Regions from separate parts of the Homo sapiens genome. Here regions 1 and 3 are each linked to region 2. Evidence: promoter capture Hi-C in 16 types of primary human blood cells and fetal thymus (Javierre and others, 2016). All regions are on one chromosome and are shown on one strand. Each heading gives the region's core, a stretch centred on a gene start or on the middle of the fragment in contact. The rest is flanking DNA. Distances are from core to core; before and after follow the strand shown.

Evidence for each region. Contacts are between HindIII fragments. The CHiCAGO score rates a contact against its expected background, and 5 or more counts as called.
Region 1: a fragment that was not itself captured here is called in contact with the fragment with the promoter of NPVF in region 2 in 1 of 17 cell types (monocytes); the score reaches 5.1 in monocytes.
Region 3: a fragment that was not itself captured here is called in contact with the fragment with the promoter of NPVF in region 2 in 1 of 17 cell types (M1 macrophages); the score reaches 5.1 in M1 macrophages.

The regions. Positions count from the first base shown.
Region 1 is chr7:25,555,258-25,558,713 of GRCh38, forward strand. No RefSeq gene overlaps it. Among named protein-coding and RNA genes, the nearest start is that of LINC03007, 230 kb to the right of the region's middle. The HindIII fragment of the contact is 9,306 bases long and covers 1-3,456 here.
Region 2 is chr7:25,226,607-25,229,861 of GRCh38, forward strand. It overlaps NPVF (neuropeptide VF precursor), which reads right to left and starts at 1,880. Exons shown (of 3, transcript NM_022150.3): 1 at 1,696-1,880; 2 at 20-420. The coding sequence starts at 1,833. The HindIII fragment of the contact is 394 bases long and covers 1,779-2,172 here.
Region 3 is chr7:25,577,538-25,580,651 of GRCh38, forward strand. No RefSeq gene overlaps it. Among named protein-coding and RNA genes, the nearest start is that of LINC03007, 210 kb to the right of the region's middle. The HindIII fragment of the contact is 797 bases long and covers 1,445-2,241 here.

The sequences.
Region 1 (3,456 bases), core at 909-3,408, 330 kb after region 2:
GGTCTTTGGAGAAATATCAACGTACCAGAACGAAGCCCAGTTTCATTTGGAAAGAATCCCAGTTTCAATATTGTTTTGGAGTTTTGTTTGAAATTCTTCAGGTGATTCTGATGCATGATCAGGTCTCAGTGTGCAGGCCTAGATGATTTCTAAGACCCCTTTAAGCTCTGTCTTCTGTAATCATGCATTCATTTCCCTCGGTGCTTGTTCAAGTTCTCATGACTGCTGCATTCAATTCCATAATATAGTCATGCTTGTTTTAATTTAAGACTCACATTTTAGGTTTGTTATTGCCTAGTAAAATTGACACTTCAGGAAGATGTTTCATGTTTATTTGTATGTAACTCATGACTTTGTACTCTTAAATGTGTGTGCAGCCCACATTAAGATTGGACTAATGATGATCTTTAAGGACCCTAATTTCTTCAATATTCCTTGCATTTGTGATCTATGACCCAAAGATCTTTCCACAGACATCCATGTTCATGTGAGAAATTAATTCCTTGGATGTGTATATGCTGTCGTGCTAACATCAATCCTGGGCCTTTGAGAAAATTTAATGTTTATACCAGAAAGGACAAAATAGGGAGTGATTGACTTCGTTCCAAAGCAGAAATTCAAATTCTCAGTTGCCCCAATAAGTTAAAAAAAGTCCCACCCTTAGTTGGTTTGGAAAACACCAATACTGTTGAACAGCTGATACCAAGCCCTACGCTGGGATTACTGTAGACAAAAACTTGGCATGGGAAAATTTGCCTTCCATGTTCTTGGTTCTTTCAGAGATCCCCCAAATGCCCAATGTGCTCAAATTGTATTATGCCCCCCTAGCCAGGCCTACCCTCCAAAGAGTGAGTACCCTATATGCCCCAAACCCTTCCTTCTTTCTCATAGCTGTCCCTGGAATAGGATTTTATAAGCTAGTTCTCACTAAAGTGTTAATTATTGATACAGTGAACTTTGTTATTTCTAAGTGTGTTATATTACATTTACTTAATCAAAAAGAATATGACTTTAAGATGGAATTTCAGGCATGTGTGGAAAGTAAGGTAGGAGTATATTTAGAACCAGAGCAGGCTTCCAGGGTCCCCTCAAATAACATGGCCCCCTCTGGCAACTAGCCATGTTTGTCATTTAAGCAACACAGAATGCTATGGGCAAACAAGTCTTTGTGAAACATGTGAAAGCATGTATTAAAAAGCTCAACCAACCAAATAAACAAAAGAATCCAAGGATGTCATTGGAATTCCTATTCACATTGCTCAATGCTGTAAACGTGAAGGTGCTTCAGTAAAACCTGGCAGATAAACAAGAGGTTAAACATGAATGCTGTGAAAAAGAGGAAAGGAAAAAAAAAGCGAATTGCAATTGAAAGAGAACTAAGCATAAAGGGTAGGCCTCTGGTGTCCCAGAAATATCTTGGGTCCGAGAAATAAGCTAAGAGAGACCTGTGAAAGATTTAATGAGAGAAATGAACCAAGGCGCCCCGTGGAGAGAGAGTGGGTGTTAAAATGCAGCCCGCCCCCCGCCACAGAATCTGGACCCCGGTACACAGCTATGTCCACGCAGAGAGGGGCTCCTTTTCCTAATGTGTCCCTTCAGAGGAAATGTCATAACATCATTTTCTAATTAGTTTGTCAGAAGACCACTCTTCTAATTTTCACAAAGATTCCCTACAAGCCAGCAGCAGCCCTGGAAACAAACCTATTTAATCTGCTGTCCCCTGGAAAAATATTTAAAGGCAGGAATAGCCAAAAGAAGCAGAATCTCATAGGAATTCAGACATAGACCCAACCAGGAAGGCACCAAAAAGAAAAAAAAAGAAAAAGAAAAAAAGGCAAGCAAAGAAGTCACAATTAGCGGTAAGAGAAAAACACAGAAACACATTTTGTAGGTCTCTGAAAATTTTCCATGGTATCAGGTCACCAATTACCAGTCAACTCTTGCCTGGAACAAACAAAAAGAAGTGACCTATCTCTCTTTCCTGCAAAGATCAGCCTGTAATTTAAGAACAATGTAAAAAAAATCAGAGTGTAGGGCTAAAGGGGTATCTCTTGAAACCTACAAGCAAAAGAAGTCGCCCTTTTTCATTTTGCTAATTTAATGTGAAAGTGAAATAGGTTCCTTTGCAACCTTGACAGCTAGCTTTCTGGGAAGGTGTCTAATATAGGACATAAAATGGAGACATGAATCGATGAGACTCATTAATATTCATAGACAGCAGATTAAGGTTGGTGGAAAAAATTATTTATGAAACGGGGGTATTGTCTTCCTTTCACCAAAAGGATTTTGTTTAGAGAGGATTGAATTGAGTGACAGGGCTATGACAGATTAGGTATGAATTTGCAGATTTCTTGGTTTATCTCCCAAAGAAACTAAAGCATTTGCAAGCAAAGAATGTCCTGGGCTGATCACAGTAAACGCTTCAGCACCACGTGCCAGTGGGTGTAATGAGGTGTCTCAAACGTGAGGTTCAGAGGCCACGGTGTGATGGAAAGCACTTGGGAGGAAATGAAAGAATGGACTGAGAGTGTGGTTATGTAACAAAGGAACAGGCTGAAAGCAAAACAGGGCTTACCTGATGTCAGAGAAAGGTGAGGGGATGAAACGGGCGATTCCTGTTTAAATGTATACATTGGGGGGATGAGAGAGAGCATAAAATCCAATAACATTGTATGTAATTTACAATTTCTCTTCTCATATTAAATATGTATTTGTTGTACTGCCTAAGAAGCCTTGTGTTATTTCTGACTGTTGTTCCTATGTGCTATTCTATAATCTAATAAAACAAGAGTGAAGGCAATGAGTTAAGAAGCAGGCACAGATCCTCAAGTGAACTCTGTGAACAATGCTTTGTACTCACACCGTTGGAGGATTTATTGATAGTTCCTTATCTGCATAAGCCCTTTCCTCCTTTATCTTTCTGATCCTTTACAGGCTTAGTGGAAATAAGCTGTTGGGATTTGTTGAAATTTTAAAGTGACAGATGAAAATTCTTTTTTGGAATTCAGCATTGAGAATGGCAGTGTGGGAACGTTGGAAGAGACCTTGAATTGTTCCCAAGGACGTCCGAAATGCCACAGATATTTAAAAGAAGTTTTCTGTTGGTTGTAATTGAAAAAATTTCAGCCTCCTATGCACAGGCCCAGCTCATTATAGTTTGAATGGTTGCTGTAATGTTGTAAGGATAATTGAAGAAGGGGAATATTTCATTAAAGACATCTACCCAAAAGGCCTAAATTAGGTAAGATCTCCAAACTAGTTTCTAAATTTTGGGGATACATATAAATGGATAGGATTGAAAAACACGTGCTGAGGAATTGAATAGGCTAATCTTTGAAAACAGGTCAGTTAGAACTGAGTCAAAGCAGAGACTGATGCAAAACAACGCAGCAGTGGCTAAAAGGAGGGTGCACAAACATAGTTTGAAAGCTGGGAGAATCCTTAGCCATCGTCTTC
Region 2 (3,255 bases), core at 630-3,129:
CTGGTTTCCAGGTATTTACCTTGACTGTTTTTGATCGGGATTCTGGATTTCTTGGTGCTGGCAGGTCATGGAGTAAAATAAGTCATTGGCACATGGTGAATGCATGGATCCTTGACACAAATCACTCAGCATCCTGCAGACACTTTTGGCTGTTGTTGTTCTCCCAAACCTTTGGGGCAGGTTAGGAACACGTCTCACGAGGCTCACCTCCATATTTCTTCCAGATCTCAGAGGCAGGTTGGCTGTTGCTCCAGCACTTCTTTCTTCTTGAACGTTCCTCCCAAATCTCAATGGCAAGTTGGCGAAGGAGTGTGGCATTTTATTGACTGCAGGTGTACTCATCTTAATAACATTTTTTGGTCCCCAATCTTTTAATTCCTCAAAATTGAGGCTTCTTTCCCCTTTTGGGTATCCTCTAGGCTATAATTAGAAATGACCATTACAATAACATACTGTTGTTATAAGCAACAGATTTAAACCCCCAATTAACTTAAATCTAGACTTTAATCTGCAGAATTGTTAAAGCTATAAACAAAGTTTGTGTTCATATGTGCAGAATTTTTAAATGATTTGTATTAAGCTTTTTAAAGCAATATAGTTTCTCTGTCCCTAGACTATTGTAAGACAACCATAAAATATTTATAAAATATATATAGTGAATACAGCAATGAGTTCAAGCAGCAGGAACATAATGAAGTACTGAAATGTGGCAAAAGTTTATTTTACTGCAGTTATTCTCTTTTGGTTTTTTTGATTCATGTTGCTTATGGAATATTTTATATATTTTTATAATTTGATTTTAGAGAAACCTCCCACTCATTTTTCATGTTTCTCTTTAAAGGCCAAAGTGGCACATGGAAACACGGTACATCAAAACAGAGATGCTGGCCAGGTTTTGGGGTATAGTTGTAGAAGGCCCAGTGGATTTCTTTTTTATTCTATCTTACTCAGGGTACCACTCTAAAGCTTTCTCAAGAAACCAATTGCATTTTTATTAGAATATAAAATACATTTTTAGCAAAGAACTCATTGGTTTATGGGTTACTGCATCACAAGTATGCCAACTTTGTAGGAACCATCTCAAATACAGAGAATATTTAATTAGATTTAGTCTTTACCATAGGAGCTTGTCCATATGGAAATTTTTAAATGATTGTTTTCTGATTATCCCTTGAGTAAAATGAGTATACACGCTAATTTCATCAGATTTGGAAAACACATAAAAGAAAATAAAAACAATTTGCAATTTTACCATCTACAGGTAAACACTTTACTAAGATATAGATTTAGTACACATTGGCCAGTTTGTAATTGCTAAGCCCAAAAGAAATGTGTTTTTTGTTTGTTTGTTTGTAGTTTAAAACAATTTGAATGTCCAGCTGAAATGTACCCAAATCTTATTTCTGCCAACCATTTATTACAAATATGCACTTGTGAGTTGATTGAAAATTATTAATGCGCTGTATGCTTGCTAAGTACCATACTCACCAGTACAATTGTCATGACAGAGGCCAGCCTGATTGCTGTCGTGCTAAATAAACAAGTGACATTTATACATTGTCAGAGGAAGGCTGAAATTTCACAAAAAAACAGAGTACACACCAACTTACTTCTTAGTCTTTACAAAATCATTAGACTTAGGATTAATATTATGTAATTAATGCTACTCACATTAGAGAGATTTAAAAAACTTACCTCAGAATATTTGTCATAATTTTCTTTGCTGTGAAGATTGGACATCACTAATTCATCTGCACAAAAAATGTTTGATGTTAACAAGCTTGAAGTGGCTAAAGTCAATAAAATGAATAGTTTTGATGAAATAATTTCCATTTTGTCTAAATCTAAAATTAAGTCTCTATGTGCAGCCCAATGTTTATGAGAGGAGAAAAAAATTGTGGTGTTTTTATATCGTCTAAAAACAAAGGAAAGTTTTTTTTAAACAGTGAAATCAATCTCACACATTTTAAGTACTAATATTAATTAGAGTGTACAACTAAAATATGCATGTAAGGAATGTGAATAATTCATTCTGGGAAGACAGCAATGTTTGTGCTTGCAAATTCATTAACTTTGAAAATAATTTTCCTCATTATAAAAGAGCTTCTAATTAGGTAAGTTTGGGGGGATAGTAATTAAGATTCCAAACAGACAGAATGCTTCATTTCTCTAAGCTTAAACAAAAAGTATTTTGTTTTTGGTGTTTGTGTCAATTCTTGAGGGAAGGAAAAGGAAGTATTCAATCCATGCTAGCTATGTTTTTTTTTTTTTAATCTGCACAAAAGAGTTAGGCGTAGTATTTTCAAAATGTCAAGCAAAATTAAGAATGTGAAAAAAATTATAATATCCCAACAAAATGCCATGAATTAGTTTTTTTGTAAAATGCTGTTTGGTTATTAAAAAGCTTCAGGGGTCAATGTTAGCCGTAACATGAAGGATGTGTATATGAGCAAATACTTGATAGGCATTTTGACAAACTGGCGTCTCAGGAGAAGCTGGAGGCAGTCAGGCCCTCTGTATTTGCTCTATGGGTCTTATTTGGTAAAGCTGTGTCAATCACCAAAACTTTCTATCAAGATGCTGCATCCTACCTTCCCTCTCAAAGTCCTTAGGGAGACTAGCAGGGGCTTGGTAAGTCATACACATGCTAACTCTATTGGTCCCAGGACGCATATTATTTAGGTAATCGCGTATTGCCAAAGGTGTGCTGTCATCATGACATTAAAAGAGAATTTACAGAAATAAATGCGCATTTACTGAAATGCCAAAGCGAATCTCTTTTGGAGCAGCTGACTGTTCTTAAATATCTGCCTTATCACTAGACTGCCTGGGTTCTAGAGACACCTTTACTTGTTCCCACCAGTCCCTTCAGCCCTTTCAGGAGAAAAAGACTTGCATGGATTTCCTACAGTCCAGCTACTTCTAGACACAGACAGTTAGAGGTAATTCACAAAGAGTTGTAAAATTGCTCTGTTGTGTCTAGAACTGTGCCACCTCTCACCTCTCTCACCAACCTACCGTATGTAATTTGAGACGTGAGATGGCAGAAGTGAAGATCTTTCTTCATATTGATCTCCAGAACAAGCCAGAAAGTTGAAAAACCACAGTGGGTGAACTCTTGTGATACAAACTTGCCTATGGTCTCTCTTAAGGCATTTGACATCATTGGCTTCATTTGTTTTGGTTTGTAGTAGCCAAGAACCCCACAGTAGGAGGCAATTAATTCAATTCATAGTCTATCGTTAATTTTGTAAT
Region 3 (3,114 bases), core at 593-3,092, 350 kb after region 2:
GTAAATTTCTGTAGAATGCACTACTTATTGGCTTTAAGGAAAATACAACTCAAAATTTTAAAAATTGAGTTCAGTAGGTCAGTACTGACATGATTATTTCCTTTGACTTGTACTTAAGGTTCTAACAGAAGAAATCTCCTAACGCCCCTGTTGTCGTCAGGCCTTTGCCCTGCTCAGCTGCAGGAGCAGTGGTTCTCCAAACTTGCATGCACCCTCTCAAGCGCCTGGAGGACTGGTAAAAGTCCCCATGGCTGGGCCTCATCTCCTGAGTTCCTGATTTCTTAGGTCTTGGCTGGGGACTGAGAGTTTGCATTTCTAACAAGTTTCCAGGTGATGCTGCTGGTCTAGGGCCCACACTTTGAGAACCATTGATCTAAACAAAGGTTACTCAAAGTGCCATGTGCAGATGTGAGCTAATTGTTACTGATCTGCAACAAGGCAAGCATGGAAATAGAAAGTATACATTTGGAATGTTTTATAATTTGACACTTTTATGGCTTCCCAGTGCATGATCAGTGGGCACACCTCATTAAATAGGATATAGATGAGTTCAGAGCTGTCGCATTTGCATCATGAGGCACATGTGGGGCAAGGTGCTGCTGGAGCCCACATTTCATTCTACGGTAGGTTGAAAACAGAAAACACTGGTCATTCACCATGCATAGTTTGAGAAGCATTGCTTCCTAAACCATCATGCTATATTGCCTCATTATTAAAAATCAAACAAATAAATGGTTAACACACAAATGAGTCAGGTTCATTCTTTCTTGTATTGTACGGGGCAGATGGGAGGAGGAATGGGCCAGACCTTGGCCTGGAACCCACTTCCTCAGGAGGCCCAGGGGAAATGGGCAGAGCTGAAAAGACTGGCCTCGAGTGTGACACTACACATCATTTGGGGGACAGAGGACAGCCCAGAGTCCAAGGAGCTTAGGCCCCTTTGAGGTTTTAGGTCTGAACAGAGAAATTGATCAGTTAGAATTAGGATGCCCACTCCTGCTTGAGGATTGAATTGGGTAAGCAAGAAGGTTGGCTGCTTCCCAGTGAGGTCGACATGGATCCCTCAATTACAGGTAGTCAAGGTGGGTTGAAACCCAATACAGAAGATTCTCAATTGCCACAAGTCACCTAAACCCCAGGTCTGGGAAACTGAGGTATAACCTGGTCTTGGGCATGGCTAAGTCTGCAGGTGGAGACCAAAAGCAGCCCTGGCCACAGCACACATGGGAAGGCAGGGACCAGGAAAAAGTAGGTTAGAAATCATCTCCTGATCTCAGCGAATTGGCTAGCATTTTCTTTTATATCTTTAAACACTTTTATTAAAATTTCCAATGATCTGATTCCTAATTATGAGGATTCAGCTGTTCTCTGCCTTCAATTGTAGGGTCCTCTTGAGCTGGCTAGAAGGATGCCCATGTGAATGAGGGCTTCTCTATGATTTTAAAGCTTGATGAATGTGCTTCAAATAGACTTTGCTAACTGTCTTTTCTAATGGATCTCCTGATGGCTCTACAATTTTACTAGCAGTGATTTATTTTTTAATATTTTGCACTTCAAGCTCTGATAAATTCAGTGTTCTTTCTAAGCACTTGTACAAATTAGATTGCAGTCAGAGGAGTTCAGCATTTTTACATGTTCAATACATCAAGATCTGATAAGCAGCTGTTGCAGCTGTCTGCTTACCTCTCTGGTCCTCATTGAAATCTGCCCTACTCCACAGCCTTCCTTGGCTGGATTGATCCCAAGAAGAGGTTTTCATTACTTTATATCTAGAAATAGCCTTCAGCTTGTTCTAATGATCTCCAGTCACCAATTTGAAAGAGTGCCCTTAGATGTCCACCAGTTACCTCTTGAACTTCATTCTTCCAGCCAGAGAACAAACTGCCCCAAAAATGCTGCAGACTGGCTGACTCAGCAGTGGTGCTACTGCCTGCTGATAAAGATGTGAGTTTAAGACCATCAGCTAGGAAAGTGGAAAGCAGTAGGACATGAGGTTTCACACGGGGGTCAGATAAGCCTGGGTTTCAATCTTGCTGTGTCATTTAGAATGCTTTTGATTGCAAGTAACAGAAAAAACAAGTGAAACAGCTTTAACACCAAAAGTTAGTAGCTGATATTGGAGCAGAGGCAGAGGACGCTTCCAGGTTGGTTGTTCAGCAGCTCAATGTCACCAGTAGTTCCTTTTCTCTCTACTCTGCTGTTTCAGCTCCATCCTCAGACTGATTCCCCGATTCCTCTCAAAGCTTCAGGCTGGCTCCAGCAGCAAGTGAGGCTAACTGCTTTTTCATTAGGGGCCAGCAGGAGAAAAAGAGGGACAACTGCTCTCCGCCAGTTGTCACACCGCCAATCGGATTGACTAGGGTAATGTCCTGCACTGATTAGCTGAGGTCTGGTTTATCTGAGCTATCCAATAAAACCACTGTCCAAAAGAAATAGGATTACCGCAGTTGTTTTAAATCAATTACAGTCACTCAATGGAGTTGAGGATGGAGCTGATCACACCAAAACCAGAAGTGCCCCTGGGGAAGAAGAAATGGATACTGGGGAGACCACCATAACATTCGTGATACTGGCTCTGCTGGTTGTATTCTCTTAGCCTAATCTTTTAACATCTCTGAGCCTCAGTTTTCTCATTAGTAAAAGAAGATTGCCTTGGTATCGACCTTCCTGGCTGTTCTAGAGATTAGGAAAAACATAGGATCATAAAGAGCTTTGCACTGGGCTTGGCACACTGTAAGGGCTCAATAAAAATTATGAGGGAGAAGATAAGTGAAGGGAGGTGCCCATTACATTTAAACATTACATTCTTTACAAGGCTTGTTTCAAGTGGGTCTTTTTCCTTAGCGTATGCACATTCAACGGCTATAAGTGAACAACAAAGACTTTGTTCAGAAACACCATTTATATGACTTATCAGGGCATGATTCACGTGAAGAAACTCAAGCTAGGCTGTTCTAACACATGGGAAGAATATCTGAGTTTAATACTACTACTAATAATGTTAAAACTCAAAAGATGAAATAAAGAAAAAGAAGAAAGTGAAGAGAGAAGTAGTTACAATTTATTGAGCATTTAGAGGTGTTATACTAAGCACTTTACAGGCATTGTGAGCCC